Regions from separate parts of the Homo sapiens genome. Here all the other regions are linked to region 4. The links are contacts of gene promoters, found by promoter capture Hi-C in blood cells and fetal thymus (Javierre and others, 2016). All regions are on one chromosome and are shown on one strand. The core of a region is centred on a gene start or on the middle of the fragment in contact, and the rest is flanking DNA. Distances in the headings are between cores, read along the strand shown.

Evidence for each region. The method cuts DNA at HindIII sites, captures the fragments that hold promoters and counts their contacts. A CHiCAGO score of 5 or more calls a contact.
Region 1: a fragment that was not itself captured here is called in contact with the fragment with the promoter of OSBPL10 in region 4 in 1 of 17 cell types (endothelial precursors); the score reaches 5.2 in endothelial precursors.
Region 2: a fragment that was not itself captured here is called in contact with the fragment with the promoter of OSBPL10 in region 4 in 1 of 17 cell types (endothelial precursors); the score reaches 5.2 in endothelial precursors.
Region 3: a contact is called between a fragment that was not itself captured here and the fragment with the promoter of OSBPL10 in region 4, in 1 of 17 cell types (naive B cells). The highest score is 5.1, in naive B cells.

Annotation. Positions count from the first base shown.
Region 1 is chr3:31,548,624-31,552,994 of GRCh38, forward strand. The region is part of intron 1 of STT3B (STT3 oligosaccharyltransferase complex catalytic subunit B); the gene reads left to right. Among named protein-coding and RNA genes, the nearest start is that of STT3B, 18 kb to the left of the region's middle. The HindIII fragment of the contact is 2,346 bases long and covers 1,768-4,113 here.
Region 2 is chr3:31,600,611-31,605,276 of GRCh38, forward strand. All of the region lies in intron 5 of STT3B (STT3 oligosaccharyltransferase complex catalytic subunit B), which reads left to right. Among named protein-coding and RNA genes, the nearest start is that of STT3B, 70 kb to the left of the region's middle. The HindIII fragment of the contact is 2,390 bases long and covers 628-3,017 here.
Region 3 is chr3:31,527,427-31,531,896 of GRCh38, forward strand. No RefSeq gene overlaps it. Among named protein-coding and RNA genes, the nearest start is that of STT3B, 3.3 kb to the right of the region's middle. The HindIII fragment of the contact is 877 bases long and covers 2,377-3,253 here.
Region 4 is chr3:31,979,959-31,984,756 of GRCh38, forward strand. OSBPL10 (oxysterol binding protein like 10) reads right to left here and starts at 1,304. Exons shown (of 12, transcript NM_017784.5): 1 at 941-1,304. The coding sequence starts at 1,221. It overlaps ZNF860 (zinc finger protein 860), which reads left to right and starts at 1,792. Exons shown (of 2, transcript NM_001137674.3): 1 at 1,792-1,944. RefSeq lists a silencer at 994-1,063. The HindIII fragment of the contact is 3,310 bases long and covers 1-2,373 here.

The sequences.
Region 1 (4,371 bases), core at 1,691-4,190, 430 kb before region 4:
CTGTCTCTAAAGGTAGGAGAAAACTGATTTATTCTCCTTGTATTCTCTTCTTTCTCTGCTCCGTCATTAGTTTGCTGATATTTTCTGTTCGGAAAGGGGGTGAAGAACCTTCCCCCCTTTGAGGGAGATAAGTTTTGGTTTCCCTGTAATATGGAACAAACTTCATACCTGGCGAGCACAAAGAAATTATTATTTTGCCAAAGTATGTTCTGCAGACCACATATTCCAGAAATTACACTTCTAAGCAAAATAATCTTTGATAATTTGAATTTGGGAAAAAAACTGCTTACTACATTCTTTGATACTGATATGCAATACACATTACCATGTTACAGTCTTAAGAAGTTGTTCAGTTAACTGTTAATTTTATTTAATCTGGTATTTACCGTATTTAATTTATGAATCACTGTAAGATTTTAATTTTTTTTTAATTAATGTTCCATGCAATTCATGGAAAAGACTGATGTAGATGTTTTATTTGATAGATGAGGAGCCTGAGGCCTAAGGCTAAGTAACTTTACCAAAGTCGTAGAGATAATAAAACTAGGACTGACTTTCTTCAGTGTTTTAAATCTTTTTATTTGTTTATTTGAATTACTGCATTAGGAACAAGTATATCCACATTAGGAACATACTTTTTTTTTCAAATGGGACAGTTGAGTATCTGCTCATTGATAGCATCCCCCCTGATTCTCCTGATTTGTCTTGGTGACTAAGTTGAGTATTATACCACTAACTTCTATGATAGTTAAGTTCTCAGGCCTGTATACATTGCTTATTTTGAGTGATTGTTTTATTTTAGTTTACCTTGTGCTGTTGCTTTCCACCGAGACTGTCCTCAGAAAGTTGGTCATTTTGCTTATGAGTTTATTAGTTGTCCAACCACTTTGGCTCTTTCATCACACCAACTTGTGGGCCATGGGATATTATTACTATGGATAATGCTTGTTAGTTATACATTTTATATTTATAGTATATGACTATGGGTCTGACTTAAACGTGTATTATGTATTTCTATATCTAATAATTGTTAGAAATCCTCTTTATATAGTATAATGCATAATCATATGTCTAATTTAGATAATATCTAGTAACAATAAAGAAATGTAAATATAACATGTTTACATATAATATTTATTGGAGATTTGTTTCTATAATATATGAATAGTTATGCCGGACTTAAATATATGTTATACACGTTGTGCGTGCGTTATATAAAGAGAAAGAACACTTGTGCCCATCCCTTCTGCCTACATTATTTAGATTTCCATCTCTATTGGGCTTAGCTGAGCAAAGTGTCACCGGATAGTTTTAATTGATCAAATATACTATTTTGTATGTGATCTTAGATTTTTTTTTCAGATTTTTTTAGTGCCATTAAAATGCTCTAACAGCCTCTTATTTTGTTGTAATTTTTTTTGTTGTCAGTTGCTTTTTCTTTTTTCCAATTAGTTTAGTAAATGTCCTTTATAAATCAGAATAGACCCTCCTTTTTCAAATGGATACTGATAAAAATTGACAGCTGTCACTGCCAGTTAAGGCAGAAATTAAGAGATGGTACTAAAATAGGAATCCTGTTTTCAGTTAATGTGTGTTTAAAAGTTTTGCCCTGTGTGTTCTTTTTTGATTTGCACATGCATCTGACTTTAAATTGGAAGATGCAGAGTAGCTCTAAGGAGTCTTCAAGACATTTTTGCAGCCTTTAAACAACCTTTGGTTTTCTCTCTGTGTTGCTCAAAGTAGAGAGACAGGTACTTTGTTATCTGAAGCTTATGACATGCTCTCTGCTTCAATCAAAATGACCACCCATCAGTTGCAAGAGCAGAGAGAGAGGTTTGTGAGAGTAGTCTGAGATCCAGTTGCAACTGTACAGTGTCACATTTATGGTGGTATGACATTTGTGAGTCTTTCCCTTCAGAGTTAACCTAGTAAAAAAAGTTATTCTCATATATCATTAGTAATCCTTATGAATTTCTATCATTGTTTTCCTGCTGTTACTTAAACACTGATAGGAATTTATGTAATCATATTAGGCTTGAGCATAACTCTCTCATGAGTTTCCATATTTTAAGTTATAAAATTGGCTATGTTTAATGTGATTATCTAGACAGTGCTCGTGTGTATCACTTGGTGAGATTGAATTTAGGCTGTTTTTTTCGTTCTATTGAAGGGGGATTTTTTTTTTCCATGTGTTACTTTTAATAGAGTTCATCAGTCTGGCATCCTTTTGTTTTTGATCCTGCCACTAGATGGCAGGAGCAATAAAAGGTAGATTGAAATGCCAACTTTAGTTGGCCTTAGCTGCTTTGTACTTTACCTTGGTTGTTCTCTGTCCCTATTAGTGCTGAATTTTGGGTATATATGAAGTGTTGCAAATAGTGGTACTTAGTCCTATAAGAAAGATCTGGTACCTTATATAGCCTGAGAGGGCCTACTAATAGGGTAAAGGAGAAAGAATAGAATAATCCTTGAGGTGTTCTAACACTTTGTCTTTTGCCTTTTACTTTTCTATTTTTCTTCTCCCTTTGTTGAATTGTACTCCTTTCCTTTATTTCCTGATTGTGGTTTTTGGGTGTTTTTTGTTTGTTTGTTTGTTTGTTTGTTTGGTTTTTGATAGGGTCTTGTTCTGTCACCCACAGTGGAGTGCAGTGGTGTCATCTCGGCTCACTACAACCTCCGCCTCCCAGGCTCAAATGATCCTCCCACCTTAGCCTCTCAAGTAGCTGGCACTACATGCGCATGCCACCACGCCTGGCTAATTTTGAAAAATTTCTGGTAGAGACAGGTTTTGCCATGTTGCCCAGGCTGGTCTTGAACTCCTGGGCTCAAGTGATCCACCCACCTTGGCCTCTCAGAGTGCTGGGATTACCTGCATGAGCCACTGTGCCTGGCCTCTTTCCTGATTCTTTTATGCTTACGTTAGCATCCATAATTGGTCATTTCTGTTGGTGGTACTAGTCGCTTTCTCATTTACCGTTCCCACGAATACATGTTAACTTGGCCAGTTTTGGTAGTCGTATGTGTAACAACAAACTGTTATAGGTGGCTTTGTAAATCTTTACAGAAAGGGTTATTTTCAAGAGAGCCTGTTAATTGATAGTCTTTGAAGAACAGAGTGATAGACAGAGTCTAGGGTGATGGGATGTTGCTTCCGTGATTATGTGACGTTGTGTAAAACTTTGTCTTACCAGTAGACTTGCACCAGAGACTCCTTGCTGGCATTATAAGATAAGCAGCCCTGTTAGGGAAGCCTATGTGGCAAGGAACTACTAACAGCCTCTATGATGTTTCCACCAACAGCCAGGAAGAAACCAGGGCCCCTCAGTCCTATAACCTCAAGGAAGTGAATTCTGCTAGAAGCCTGAGTGAGCTTGGAAGCAGATTATTTCCCTAATTTAGCCTCCACATAAGAACCCAACCCTGGTGACATCCTGATGTCAACCTTGTGCGACCCTAAACAGAAGATCCAGCTAAACTGTGCCTAGATTCCTGACCCATGAAGCTATGATAGAATTAGTATATGTTGGTTTAAGCCACTGAGTTTGTTTAAAATTGCTGTATAAGCAATAGGAAACTAATACAAATACCCTTCGTAAACCTTTCTTTCCATCTCTGAATGTTACTACCTAACTTCTCTCTGATCTCATGTAATCAAAAAATATTGATTGAATACCTCTTACTTGCCAGGGACTATGGCTACAGTAGTGTGAACCCAAATAGACATGATTCTAGTTTAGTGAGGGAGTTAGACTTGAACCAGTAAGAATGACCAATGCTGTCAAGGAACATGATACAATGAGAGCTTATAATAGGGAGATAAACTAAACACATTGTCTTTTTAGGAATCCTTATTTGACTTTTAAAAACTTATACTTACTACATTGCTTTCTTACCTTTTTTTTTAAAGCATATTTCTGCCATCACAAAACTTGTTCTATCTTTATTTTCTGTTAGCATTATGAAAACTACCTATGTGTATTTTTTAACCCTTACGAGTGTTCTTTCCTCTCTCAAGAACACTTCTCCTCTTTTCCTGCCTTTTTGCTCAATAATTCATCCAGGTTTAAGTTAGATGTCAGTTGTAGAAGCCATCCACGAGTCCTTTGGACAGTAAGCTTTGTGAGGACAGGTCCGTCCTGTTTGCTAGTATCTTTAGCACCCAGTGTGATACATAAGATAGGCTCTTAAAACCAAATAAGGCCGGGCACGGTGGCTCACGCCTGTAATCCCAGCACTTTGGGAGGCCGAGACGGGCGGATCACGAGGTCAGGAGATCGAGACCATCCTGGCTAACACGGTGAAACCCCGTCTCTACTAAAAATACAAAAATTAGCCGGGCATGGTGGCGCGTGCCTGTAGTCCCAGCTACAC
Region 2 (4,666 bases), core at 573-3,072, 380 kb before region 4:
CATTTTTATATAAGTGCTTTGTCATCAACTTTTCCTTGACAAGTTTTTTTTTCGTTTTTGTAGAAATTAGTCTGGGTTTAATATTTGTCTACACTTTTTCCTCCTCTTAATTTTGGGGAATGGGAATTTTTATCATGAAAATCGTTCACATTTTTTATATCGAATTCAACTTACTGTAAGAGATTGACATCCTCAAAGTAAGCAGCTTAATAAGCTTTCAGAAGCTCTTTTTTGGATAATGTACTAATAGACTGAGTCTCTGTTGTCTCTAGAAAAATGTTCATTTTTCTCTACAGGTTTTAAAACAATATTTTCACTGTGATGTTTAGCGGTAGATGATGTTTCACCTTAGATCTCATTTTCCATGATAGAGTTAGAACTTCTATGGGTTGAAGGAACTAGAGAGCAATTGTGAACTGAAACCAGTGTCTTAGTAAAATAATACAATTCTATTATAATAATGTTTTTGGAAAACAATAACACAAAGATAAATCTTAATTAAATTCATTTTCAAAAGCATAGTAGCTTGGCAATTTCTCAGAAGTTAACCATAGATTCGTCATATGACCAAGCAGTTCCACTCCTAGGTATTTACCCAAGAGAACCGAAAACATATATTCATACAAAAGCTTCTATGTGAATGTTTATAGCAGCATTTATTGTGCATAATGGCCAAAAATGAAGACAACCCAAATGTCTATCAGCTTTATGAAACCATAAAATATGGTATATTCATACAATGGTGTATTATTAAGCCATGAAAAGGAATAAAATACTGATATATGCTACAACATGAACCTTGAAAACTTTATACCATTATGTAAAAAAGCCAGACATAAAAGGCCACATAGTATATGATTCTGTTAGTGTGAAATGTCCAGAATAGGCAAATCCATAGAAACAGAAAGTAGAGTTTGTGGGAAATGTCCAGAATGGGTAAATCCATAGCAACAGAAAGTAGATTAGTGGTTGCCTGGGGATTTAGGAGGAGGAGAATGTGGAGAGGAGAGGAGAGGTGTGACTGTTGAATGGATATGGGGTCTCTTTCAAGGATGAGGAAATATTTTAGAATTATATAGTAGTGATGGTCGCACAACCTTGTGAATACACCAAAAACCATTACATGATAGGTTATTAAAAGATAAATTTTATAGTATATTAATTGTATCTCAACAAAATAAAAAAGCATAGTATATTACATTTATAGCCATTTCAGCATACTTTTTCATTTGATACTGTGAGGGTAGGTACTATTCTCATTTTACAGGTGAGGAAACAAGAGGAGACATAATAATTTGCTAAAGATCATGTAGCTAATAACGGGGCTGAGGCTTGAACTCAGATTTTGGCTTTAAAGCCTGTAATGAGCCAGCTGTAGTAGCTCACACCTCTTATCCCAGCTACTCAGGAGGCTGAGGCTGGAGTTCCACTTGAGTCCAGGAGTTCAAGACTGCAGTGTGCTGTGATCTTGCCACTGCACTCCAGCCTGGGTGACAGAAGGAGACCTGTCTCTGATTGCATGAATGACTGAATGAATGGCCCATGATGCTAAAAACCACCAAATCTGTGTGCCTCTCGTTTAAACAAATAACCGTACTGTTGAAATACATACACCTATGTATTTCTCTACCCCAAAAACACTATAAACAGTAGTTGGGATCCAGAAAGGAGAATAATAAATAACAGATTAAACTTTTTTTTTTTAAGTTAAATGGTTACAGTGAAGGAACTAAGAGGGTGTTTTGTTGTTGCTGCTGTTGTTGTTGTTTTGTGTAAATTTAAAAATTGGGGATCTTGGAAATTTAATGGTCAGAGGAATACAAGAGAGAGAAGATTGAGAAATACACTTTATGAAATGCCATGATTCAGGAAGAAGAGCCAAAGGAGATGTCAGAAGTAGTCAAATAAGTATATTGTTAAAATGGTCAGATGGAAGTATATTCTACATAAAAGTTTAAAATTCAAGCAGTGTCCAACTCCCCTTTAACCTTAGCACCAAGATTTCAAAGGATTAGAATTTGAGAAAGGCCTTTGTATTTGGTAGCTGGGATTTTTTTTTTTTTTTTTTTTTTGGTCACTCTAGAAAAATATGAAATTCATACTACTTTGGTTGATTCTTGAGAGTATTTTAAGAAGAAAGAATAATAAAATGGGTTAGGGATGTATGTGTGTATAAAGCTAATGTTCATAATGTTCAAATTCTCCACTCTACCCAACTTGTTTCTTTTACTTATAATTATCCAGGAGTATTTTGATGATTTCTAGTCTGCTTTCTTAGGGTTTACTTCTAAATGGATGGAAAGTAGTATGATAGAGCAAGTGTTGCTCTTCCTTCATCCAGAGTGTGTCAGGATTTAAGTTCAATTTCTCTTAACTTAATGGTCCTAAAAACTATGGAAGCATTGTAAAGTGTTTGTATATAAAGTTCTTTGATTTTGGCACGTAACATCCTTTGTCTTTTGTTCTCTCTCCCCTTGAGCAGAAATGTTTAGGTAAAAAAAAATAAGGATTGATAAATGTCAGACTCATAATTATATTAACTAAAAGTTTAGTTGTGTTGTTCTAAGTGTTGAATTAAATGACTTGAATTATTTTAAATAATTATGAAAAAGTTGTGTCCTCTTTGAGTAGATTTTTTCAAGTGTCCTTAAAATCAATTGTAGCACAACCACAGAAAACTGTCAAAGTTTATTCACATGTGGAAAAGGAGGCACATGGGTGGTAATGTGGATGTATAGTGGTAGAAGAGTGGCATGGGAATTGAGCAAGGGAGGTGTAAGAAAAGCTGAGATGGGAGGCCGTCTCTACTTGAAATTTTGGGAGGAAAAATTTAATTTTCTGTTAAGAGATATTTTTGACTTGGTGAATTTCACTATATTGGGAAGTAAATGTTTAAAAATTATGTTATGCATAGGATTCTACTGTTTTAAAAGGAACACCCAAACCTTATGTTGCATTTGTAGAAAGAATGGCTTGCAGGAAATCACAGTAAAACTGATGGGATGTGAAGTGATTTAAGCTTTCTAATTTGATTAAAGCTTATCATACTTTGTGTTCATGTCATAAGGAAATTATTAAAGATATGAAGTCAAATTTAGGGATATTTACTGTGGTATAACTTGTAATTGTGAAAATATGGAACTAACTTAAATGACCAATAGGGGAATGATTTTTTAATTGCAGTGTTGCCATATGGAATATTATGCAGCCTTTAAATTTAATCTTTTTGAGTATTTGATGACACAGGAAAATGTTAATTAAAAGCAGACAGTAAGGATTACCAGTGATTTTTTTTCATACTTATTTCTGCTTTCCAGATACATACAATGAGTATGTGTTAAGTTTATAATAAATAAGACTTGGTTTTTAGTTTATAGAAATAGGAATTGTACCTCAAGGGCTGCATTAACTAGATTAGGTTAGTAATTTAAGCACAGAAAAGAAATCAATTTCTAATATTGATGAATGCTTTTGAAATGTCACTAGAACAGCTTGTTTATGGCATTGTCTATGTTTTCTGCAGTGAGTTGAGTAAGGAGAGTAACAGTTGTTTTTCATATTATATCTAAAATGTATTTTTTAGATGATATTTGCTGGGAACCGTCATTAAAGTTTTTTGAACATACTACCTACTTTAGTTCTGTACAAATTATTATGGGCATTATATATTTTGTGAATAAAGAAAAGATAATCCAATTATTGAGTACATTAAAAGTAAAGCCAAATTATTAGGAGTCACATTTATACTTGGCAGCTGTAAACAGAACACAGCTAATGCTAGTTTAACTTAGAAAAAACAAACTTAAAAAGATTGCATGTAAAAAATCCAGCATTAAAAAAAGAAAAGTTCCCGGATACAAGGGCTGGAAGCTCTGGAGTTTATTTTGTCTAATTCTACCATACTACTGAGGAAATTAAAGCAAATTTCACTCACCATACATTTATTAAGTGTTGAAAAAATAAATACTGTTTTGTGCTAGCCATTATGATACAAAGATGAATAAAAACCTTCGTGTAAGGAGTGTATATTATACAGTGTAATCAATTTAATAGCATATGATCAAAATGGAAATAGGGAAAAATTTGTGAAAATCAGTTTGGACTTTAACCATGTTCTTTTAAAAGTTTTGGAGATAAGTCTTGATCTTGAGAAGAGAGAATAGTACAGAAGCAGACTTAGAATTTGTGGTAATGTAACCATAAATAAAAGGTGCCATGACATTGAGGGTAAGAGTACATACTCCAGAGCCAATCTACCAGGGTTCAATTCTTGCTCCCTTACTACTGTGTAACTTTGGACAAATTAATGTCCTTTGATGTCCTTAGGCCTTAATGTCCTCATGGGTCAAATAAAGATAATAATAGTTACCTTACAGATTGTTAAGGATTAATGAGTTACAGGTTAATATATGAAAGGTGCTTAATAATAGATGAACACAAAAAAATACTATTTAAGTGTTTGCTTTTGTTGTTGATGTTAAAGTTATGAAGGAATAGCCAGATAGACAAAAGAGTTCAAGAGGCTAAGAGAGGTGATTACTGTATTAAGACTGAAAGGATAAAACCCCAGTGTGAATCTAAGGAGTGTTCCTTCTTTTTTTTTTAAGTGAAAATAAACTTTCACTCAACTATTTTTGGTTGTGAGAAACATAATGGAGAAATAACA
Region 3 (4,470 bases), core at 1,565-4,064, 450 kb before region 4:
GATAGAAAACATTCTCTGCCTCATACTGGATTTTGAGCTAGATTAGATCACAGCAATCCCCTTATCATCTACCGCAAAGGCCAACAAACTCTGGTCTGCAGGTGTGGTTGTGTTTACTGAAGAACAGCCATGCCTGTTCTCTTACATATTGTCCATTGCTACTTTCACACTACAACAACAGGGTTGAGTAGTAGCCTGAGACAGCATGGCCCACAAAGATGAAAATATTTACTGTGTTGCCTTTTACAAAAAAAGTTGCAGACCCCAGTTCTATTGGATTATAAATTGGAGGTTATTATTCATTATCAGCAGCTAGGTATTGCCTAACTTTGTAAGGTGTTTTATTTGAAGCAGGCATTTTCTGGCTTAAAGAAATAAAGAAGCACTCGTATGGGCTCGGGTCATGGAGAATTATTTTAAGGCTATCCAGGGGAGTAAGTCTCATAGCCCATCTGTCATGGTTCTGAATATAGCAGTAGTACCAGTGATATTGTTAATAACCAACATATATTGAATATTTCCTTTGCGCCAGGCACTGTCCTAAGTTATTTTCATGTATTGATTCATTTATTTCTTCTTATAACCCTAAGAGAAAGGTTCAGTGCTTATCTACGCTGTAAAGATGAGGATACCAAGGAGCAGAGATGGGAAGTAGCTTGCCAAAAGCCATGTGACTCAGAAGAACTAAAGTCAAGATTTGGTACCCAGCGTGTCTGCAGAGCCTGTGCTCTAAACCACCACACAGTACCACTTAGCAGCATACCTAGCTCAAATCTTTTTTCTCCCTCTCTGCTTCTCTCCTCTACTGGGGCTATGGACTACCAGGGAGGTTCTTTGACAGGTGCTTGTCAGAAAGGGACAATATAAGCATTGGGAATTCCCTCAGTTACCAGATATTTGCAAATGTCAATTATATTGTAGACCGTAGCAGCCCCCTAGTGTGGTGTGTCTAGTACAAGCGTACATGTCTTGTTGTTTGTGTTTCTCTAGGAAGAATGAAACCCACTCTCCGACCTGTGTCATTCCTGGGACACATCACAGGCACTTAAATCTTTTCTTGATCACTGTGGGAAAGGCTAGGGACTGCGGATCGTAATTTAGTTTTTTCTTGGTCTGATTTGGTCCTGTCTGTGCTTTTGAAACCAGACTTTTAGAAAGGGTGGTATACATTCTCTGCCTCCACATCCCTTGCCACTGATCCCTTCTCACCTGCTGCCATCTGGTTTCTGCCCCTATGACTCCACTAAAATTGACCTTGCTAAAGTAATTGGTGAACTCCTGGTTGCCAAAAGAAAGGTACACTTTTCAGCTGTGTCACACTCCATTTCTCTGTACCTTGTGCTGCTTCTGACTTCACTTTATTTCCCTTTCTTCACTGCTGGGACATTGCTCTATCTTGGGCTCCCTGTAGGCACATCTAAATTTGGAAAGTCCTTAGGGCTCTATCCTCAACCCTTGTCTCCTTGTCTATAGCCTTGATTCCAGCAAAATTTCACCCGTAGCCATGGAGTCCCAAGCCTTTATCCCAGAAAACCCTTCCTCCTGAACATCACATCTCTTTAAGTGTCTGTTATCCAGCTCCTCTTGGATGTCCTACAGGGACTTAAAACATTACATCTCCAAAGCTGATTTGATCATCTCCCCTCCAAATCTGCTGCTTGTCCTTTGCTCCCTATTTCTGAGACATCACTTTCCATCCAAATAACTAAACCAGAAACTCCAGATTTGTCCTAAACCCTACTTTTATTTTACCCCAATCACCAATTTCTGGACTCTACCCTCTTGATACCTCTCCTATCAGTCCTCTCCTCTCTGAGCCCTACTGTCCCAGTTTTGGTACCTAATTCTCTTGCCTAAATTTCTGTAAATGCTTCCTTATTGGTTTCTCTGCTTCCACTCTCACCCTTTCCAGTACATCTTTCATACTACTGTCAATTTTTTTCTTCCATCAACCAAGTCTGATCATGTTATTGTTGTTCAAAATGTTTCAATGAATCCCAGCTGCTTACAGAATAATAAACTCCTTTACCAGGCAGACAAGTCCTTGATAATCTGGTTCTTATCCCTCTTTCAGTCTCATCTCCCAATGCACCTTCATTAATATTAAACTTTGTGTATTAATTTGAAGGACTTCCTCGTTCCTTCTTGGAATCCCCCATCCCTCTTCCTGGTGTGTCTTGTGAACTTCTGCTCACCCCTCAAGTTTCAACTCAAATACTCCCTTCCCCTGGAAGCTGGGCCTCTGATGTCACACCACTCTGCTCATCATGTTGCACCCATAGTGTTTGATTGACTCCTGAGATATTTGAACTCAGGAGGATGTTACAAGCACCTAGCAGGATTAGAACCTCAAGTGCAAAGGGGCAAACACATTCAAGCTTCATCACAAACTGTAAACAATTTTTCCAAGTTGATAGGCTAGAAATTGTGAATTCACAATGCTGCAATTTATTTTTATGGGTTCTCTAGTGGTTCCACAATAGCATATTCCTCACAAAAGTAATCTCTGAATTCTCAGGTAGAGCTTTTACTGGTCTCCTCTCCAAAATGCTTTTCACATTGCAGCCTTGGTAATCTTTTCAAAACACACATCTGATCAACTCTCTCCCTCTATCTCAAATACACTACATGCTGCTTAAAACCCTTTATGGCTTCTCAATATTCTGAAGTTAACATGAAGCAAAAAACACCTCTTAAAAGGACCTACACTACCCGGCCATTCCTTTGACTCCTACTGCACCTTGTCCCACTGTCTGCATTGCAGCCACTTTTCTGGGTTACTCGTATGCCTCCCCTGCCCCACTGCAGTGCCTTTGCACGTGCTTCTCTATGTAACGCGTTCCATTCTCCTTCTCCTCGTCCGTTCATCATCACTTCCAGTGCTGCTTCCTCAGGGTAATGTTTCTCATCCTTCTGGTGTAGATCAAATTCCCCATGTGCCTGTCCTCCACAGTGTTTGTCACCCTGCATTTTGGTCCTGAACCATCTGATGATTTGGTTAATACCTCCCTTCCTAGGGCTGGCTGGTGAACTCTCTGAGAGTAGGAGCCCTGTCTTTCCTGTTCCTAGCTGAATCCCCATGCATCCCAGTTCACTCACAGTGGTCGGCATAAAGGAGTTCAATATATACTTGCTGAATGAATGAGTGAATAAATGAAGGTCAAAAATCAAGGGGTTTTCGTAGGGCTTTTCACCTTTACCACTACCCTGTATTTGCACGTTCCTTAACAATTTCCTAAAATGCTTTCAGATAAGCTTTTTTAATATTAACAACTGACTTTAAGAGCAGAAAGGGCAACCCATGCAGGTGACTTGTCCAATGCTACATGACTAGTAAGCAACAATTTGGGACTATTTCACTTTGTCACTTTTCAGATCAGGCCTATGGCCATTAAACAGCCAAAACAGGAAGCAAAAGAAGATAACGTAGAACTTACTAGGGAATAGATACACAAAGACAATAAAATAGAAATATCCAAACAAATTAAAATAAAAACACAAATTTTATTTTAGACTGATAAAACTTTGGTTCAGGGAACACAGACAAAAATCCTCTGCTGTCATTTCAGCATGTACCGTTTGGGCTATGAGGAAAAGCATGTCATCTTTCTCTGTATAACAGAGGCAGTTAATATTTTATCCTAATTCTCATTAAAATGTGTACGTTCAATAAATGTCGGCTATTAAACTGTTGGTGAGAAAGTCTATTTCTGGAAACCTTTTCATTATTTCCTTAATAAGACTATTTATGGTTTTTTTAAGGAAACAAGACAAAACGTAACCACTTAGCAGGTTAAAAGGGTAGCTGGAGTTGCCTTACTTTCAAGGAGCTACCTCAAAATAACTAGGGTTCATTTATCTAATATTTTAAGACTTCTATTAATATTGAAACACAATTTGTAGTTAAAGAGAAAAATTTAAATCACCTAAGAAAATAATTCAGGGCCTTTATAGTTTTACATTAATATGCCCTTTAATATCCAGATGTTACTTACCTAATAAAATGTACAATTAGCTGTGAATTGACATGAACAAGTATTTACTGAGCACCGATTACGCCGAAAGCTCCGTACTTTCTATGGGGTTTATATAAGAGCAATTCGAGTCTCCCCACTACCTCACTTAGTTTAAGCTCATTTTGCCCTGAGTTTATCTGGTAGCACTTTATTTTAGCGGACAAGGAGGGAAGTGGGGAAAGGAAAGGAATTATAAAAATACAAGGTAGACGTGCACAAGAACCTTCGTTCTATTATTATTTAGTAAAGTGAGAACTGGAAACAGCTTAACGTCCAGGGTAAGTTAGTTTCACTCACTCGACGGAATGTATGCAGCCGTTAATGTATTTCTGCATTTTCCCATATTTCCAGTGAACATACAGTACTTTCGCAATTCGGAGTACAAACGAAAAAGGGCGAGAGAAGGTCGCATTTTGCCTGCCGGAGCTAGGGGCGCGCTTGCCGGTTCCAACGA
Region 4 (4,798 bases), core at 54-2,553:
GGAGGGTATTTTTTCTTTCTTTTTATTATTTTATTTTATTTTATTTTATTTATTTATTTTTTTTGAGTCGGAGTCTCGCACTGTCGCCCCGGCTAGATTGCAATGGCGCGATCTCGGCTCACTGCAACCTCTGCCTCCGGGGTTCAAGCGATTCTCCTGCCTCAGCCTCCGGAGTAGCTGGAATTACAGGCGCGCCGCCACGCCCGGCTAATTTTTTTTGTTTTTAGTAGAGACGGGTTTTCACCATGTTGGCGAGGCTGGTCTCGAACTCCTGACTTCGTGATCTGCCCGCCTCGGCCTCCCAAAGTACTGGGATTACAGAGGTGAGCCACCGCGCCCGGCCTCTTTCTGTTTTTAAACAAAACTTCCATTACAAACATCGGAGGCTGCAAGGCACAAACTGGGGCAGGAGTATGCACAGTCGCCCAGGATGACAAGTGGCAGGTTTTTTGTTGATGGTGGTGGTGTTCTGAAACACCAAACTTTAAAATGAACTGTTACTTAGAGAATTACTGTAATCGGAGCGGACGTGCTAACGCTTTTTCACCCCGGCACAAAGCACGCCCCTTCTGCCTCCCTTTCCCAGTCATTCTTCAGGCGTGCGGGAAACCGCGGACAAGCAGAGCACGGGGACCAGCACGATCCTCCTGCCACCACTCCAGTCTCTGCAGGTGCCAGCATAGAAGAAAACCAGGGCTCTCGCCTCCCTCCCCGCCACTGCGGTGCGGTCCCGGGGTGGAGCCACGGCGCGCCCCATCCTGAGAACCCCACCTGGAGGGGAGCAGGGACGCAGGAAGGGCACCGTTGGGAGGCATCACTGGGTTCGCTGAAGGCACAATCGCGCGCGCACACACATACACAGACACACATACACACACGCACGCACACACACACACACACACACAGCGGCGCGCGGTGGCGCGGGCGGCTGGCGCGTTACCTGTTCTGCCAGCCCTGGAGGAGGTTGGTGTATTTGCTGAGCACGCCCTCGAGCGCCGGCTCCCTCCTGCGGCCGCCTCCCCCGGACGGGCTAGCGGCCACAGAGCCCGGGCTGCTGCGGCTTCCCCCGCCGCCGAGCCCGGCCGCCGCCGACCGGCTGGAGACCCCCCGGCCCGCCAGAGAGCAGGAGGGCGAGGAGCCCGCCGAGGTAGCACGGCTGCTGCTGCGGCTGCTGCTGTTGCTACCCCCGCCGCCGTCTGTGCCCTGGACTGCCCTCTCCATGGTCCGTGGGCGCCCGGGACGCGGGTGCCCGCCGCGGTGGCGGCCCCGGCACGGCGGCTGCTGCTGCTGCTACAGCTCCGGACGCCCGGGCCGCGCGTGCCTGCTCCAAATCCCCGGGAAATGCCTGACTCATACAGGAGGAAGAGGAGGAGGAGGCGAAGGAGAGCTGGGAAGGAAGCCAACGGGGCTGGATGCAGCTGCGGCCGCCCCTCCTCCCGCCGCGGCCAGGGCCCGGCCCCTCCCTCCGCACTAGTTTCCCGGGCAAGTTCGGAGCGGGTGGCCGGCTAGGCGAGCCCTCTTCGGGTTCCTCCTTCTCTTCCTTCGTGTCCCTGCGGCCTCTCAGGCCCTCGGGACACTCTAGGAGGCCGATCTGCAGGGTGGGCACGCCCTAAATCCACGCCAAGTCACCCACGCATTCCTTCTGCCACCCTCTCTTGGATCCGAAGGGGCGAAAGGGAATCTCTGCACGTCACTCCCCACCCCTTATCCACCTCGGGACCTGGAGGGAGGGGCAGCCCCACCCACCCGGTCCACCCGGATATGGACCCGCCCGGCCTGACAGGCTCACACGCACACTCCCTCTCTCGGTCTTCCGCACACGATGCTGCGCCAGACGCTCCTACACAGTAACCTGGAAATTATCACCGGCGGAGCAAAGTCACAGCTCAGGGAGGCCCTCCGCGTTGTCTGGCGGAGGAGGGGAGTGGCAGGTGATCCTCACAGGTAAGCTCGCCGGGCATTTTCATGCAGCAGGATTATGATAAATGCTTAACAGACACACGGCTGGGCTGGGGTGAGGCGCGCGAACTCTCAGGTTTGTGCGAGTGCTTCCTTAAATTGAGTGTCCTAGGTCACTCACTGGCCTAACCCTAATCCCCTGCCCTGAATGGCACGCATAAACCTGGCAAGTCAAAACCTATCCATTGCTACCACACTGCACGTGCACCTAGGAGCAGAGGCTCTGAAACCGGGAAAACTGCTCCAGAGGCAAGGGAAATTAACAGATATTTACAAACATTGAAGGATTCTCTGTGTTGGCTGTAACTTCTGCGCCCCTCTTCCTACCTAAAGATACTCTTTCTATCCCACTAATATTTTTTGTGAATATAGATATCCATTGTAATCTGAAGTATCAAAAATTACCTAGAAAAAAGCTTTGAGGAACTCAGACTCTCTCTCTCACACACACACAGACAAAACAAAAGGTGATAGATGATAGGTGATCTCCGTCCAAAGGATCTACAAACCCATCAAGCAGATAAATACTTCAAGAGTTAAAAAAAATTACTAAATGGAAAAGTCAGCTCTCAAAGGGACAGTTCCCCGAGCCCAACCCCTTTCTAGCTTCACATCCTTCCAGGAAGATTTCATGGGTGGTTTAGCTCTAGAGATGCACGGAGAAGCTTCTGGAGTTGAAGAGAAGTGGTTGTGCCCCTGAGTAAATTACAATTCCAGGTGCCTACATAGTGTTAAAAAAAAAAAAATCTGAAAAGAGCTTGCCTGGACCAAATTTGAAGCCATTCAGAGCTGAATTCTAACCTATGACCTTGATCAAATTACCTCTTTTAGCCTTAGTTTTCTCACTGCAAAATGGGACAAATGATACCGGCTGTAATAAACTATGCAAGAATGTTCATTTGTTCAAAATATTTACTGCCGCTTCCTATGGAAAGAGTATCCTTCCTCCACATGGACCTTAGGCTTGGCCATGGAATTGCTTTGAGCAATGGAATGTGAACAGAAGTAATGAATGCCCCTTCCAAACATAAGCTTTAAGAGCAGTCATATGGTTCCACCATCTTTCTCTTTTCCTTATCCCAGGAGAGCAGCATGTCCCGGATAAGGACTCTCCTTAAGCTTGTGTCCTGGAGTGAGAAGGTGTGGAATACAGCAGATCCTAAGCCAGTTAGTGTTGGCCATGTAACATGCACAAAATGTTTGTTTGAAGCCATTGAGATTTTAGCATTATTTTTTACCACAGCATAGCTTTGCCTAAGCTAACTTACTGATCATATATGAGTGTTCATTGAGTCCTGCATTGACATACAGACTGAAGGTGGGAAGGTAGGTGCATACTGGACTATAAATGTCAGCATTATGTACCAAAACAACATGCCTTTTATTGGAGACTGCCACCTTAAGCTCCTGCTAAAAGAGGAGAAGTGTCATTTTATTTCATATTACCTAACCTATGCCACCATTACTCCACCTTATGCAGCCAACCTAAGACTGAATGAGCTAGCACAACAAATTCTCACCTTGGACTAAAAAATTAGACCCTTGAGATAGACCAGTTCAAGTGGGGAAGGAACTAAGCTAAAAGGAATAGTCAAGGCCAGGATGGGGCAGGAGCAAGCCAGCCGTATGGGATCAAAAATGTCCAAGAGGTGAGTGGAGCAGATGTGCTGAAAGTAGAGGCTATATCATGAAAGAGTGATGAAGCACATGCTGTTCCTCCTGCTGGTGACACTGTTCCCTGCTCTCTTCACCCGGTTTGTGTTTCTCACCCATGGAGTTATGGATTACAAGTCACTTCTTCCAGAAAGCTTTCCTTGACCTACCGTAGTATAGCAAATAGGGAAAAGGTACCTGCAGAATTATGTTTGGAGAGGAAAAAGTCTTTATGTTTGAAAAACAATTTGGAAAATACATAATAAGTTGGCAAAAAGTATTTGAAATACATACTGTAATGCCCAACAGTTTCATCTTGCTTGTTACCCGGAAAAGCCAATGCAGGTTTTTGCAATAGAGGAAGAGTTTAACAATTGTAGGGCCAGCCAAGCTGGAGCACAGGAGTGTATTATTACTCAAATCAATCTCCCTGAAAATTCAGAGCCTAAGGGGTTTTTTTTGTTTTTGTTTTTGTTTTTGTTTTGAGACTGGAGTCTCGCTCTGTCACCCAGGCTGGAGTGTAGTGGCACGACCTCAGCTCACTGCAAGCCCTGCCTCCCGGGTTCACGTCATTCTCCTGCCTCACAGCTTCCCCAGTAGCTGGGACTACAGGCACCTGCCACCATGCCCAGCTAATTTTTTTGTATTTTTAGTAGAGATGGGATTTCACTGTGTTCACCAGGATGGTCTCGATCTCGTGACCTCGTGATCCGCCCACCTCGGCCTCCCAAAGTGCTGGGATTACAGGCGTGAGCCACCGTACCGGGCCCACCTAAGGTTTTTTTTTTTTTAAGGATAGTTTGGTGGGCAGAGGGCTAAGGATGGGGAAGCTGATAGATTGGGTGAGGGATGAAATTATAGAGAGTCGAAGTTTGTCTTCTTGCACTGAGTCAGTTCCTGAGTAAGGGCCACAGGACCTGATGAGCCAGTTTACCAGACTGGGTGGTGGCAACTGGTCCGTCAGAATGCAGGGTATGAAAAACACCTCAAACACAAATCTTAAGTTTTACAATAGTGGTGTTATCTATAGGAGTGATGGGGAGGTTAGAAATCTTGTGACCTCTGGAAAAATGGCAGATTATCATTTAACTATGCCTTTATCTTAGCAAAGTTCAGACCTCTCTTAAGCCTGTGGCCTTTCATTAGTTTTACAAAGGTAGTTTGGTGTTCAAACAAGGAGGGAATA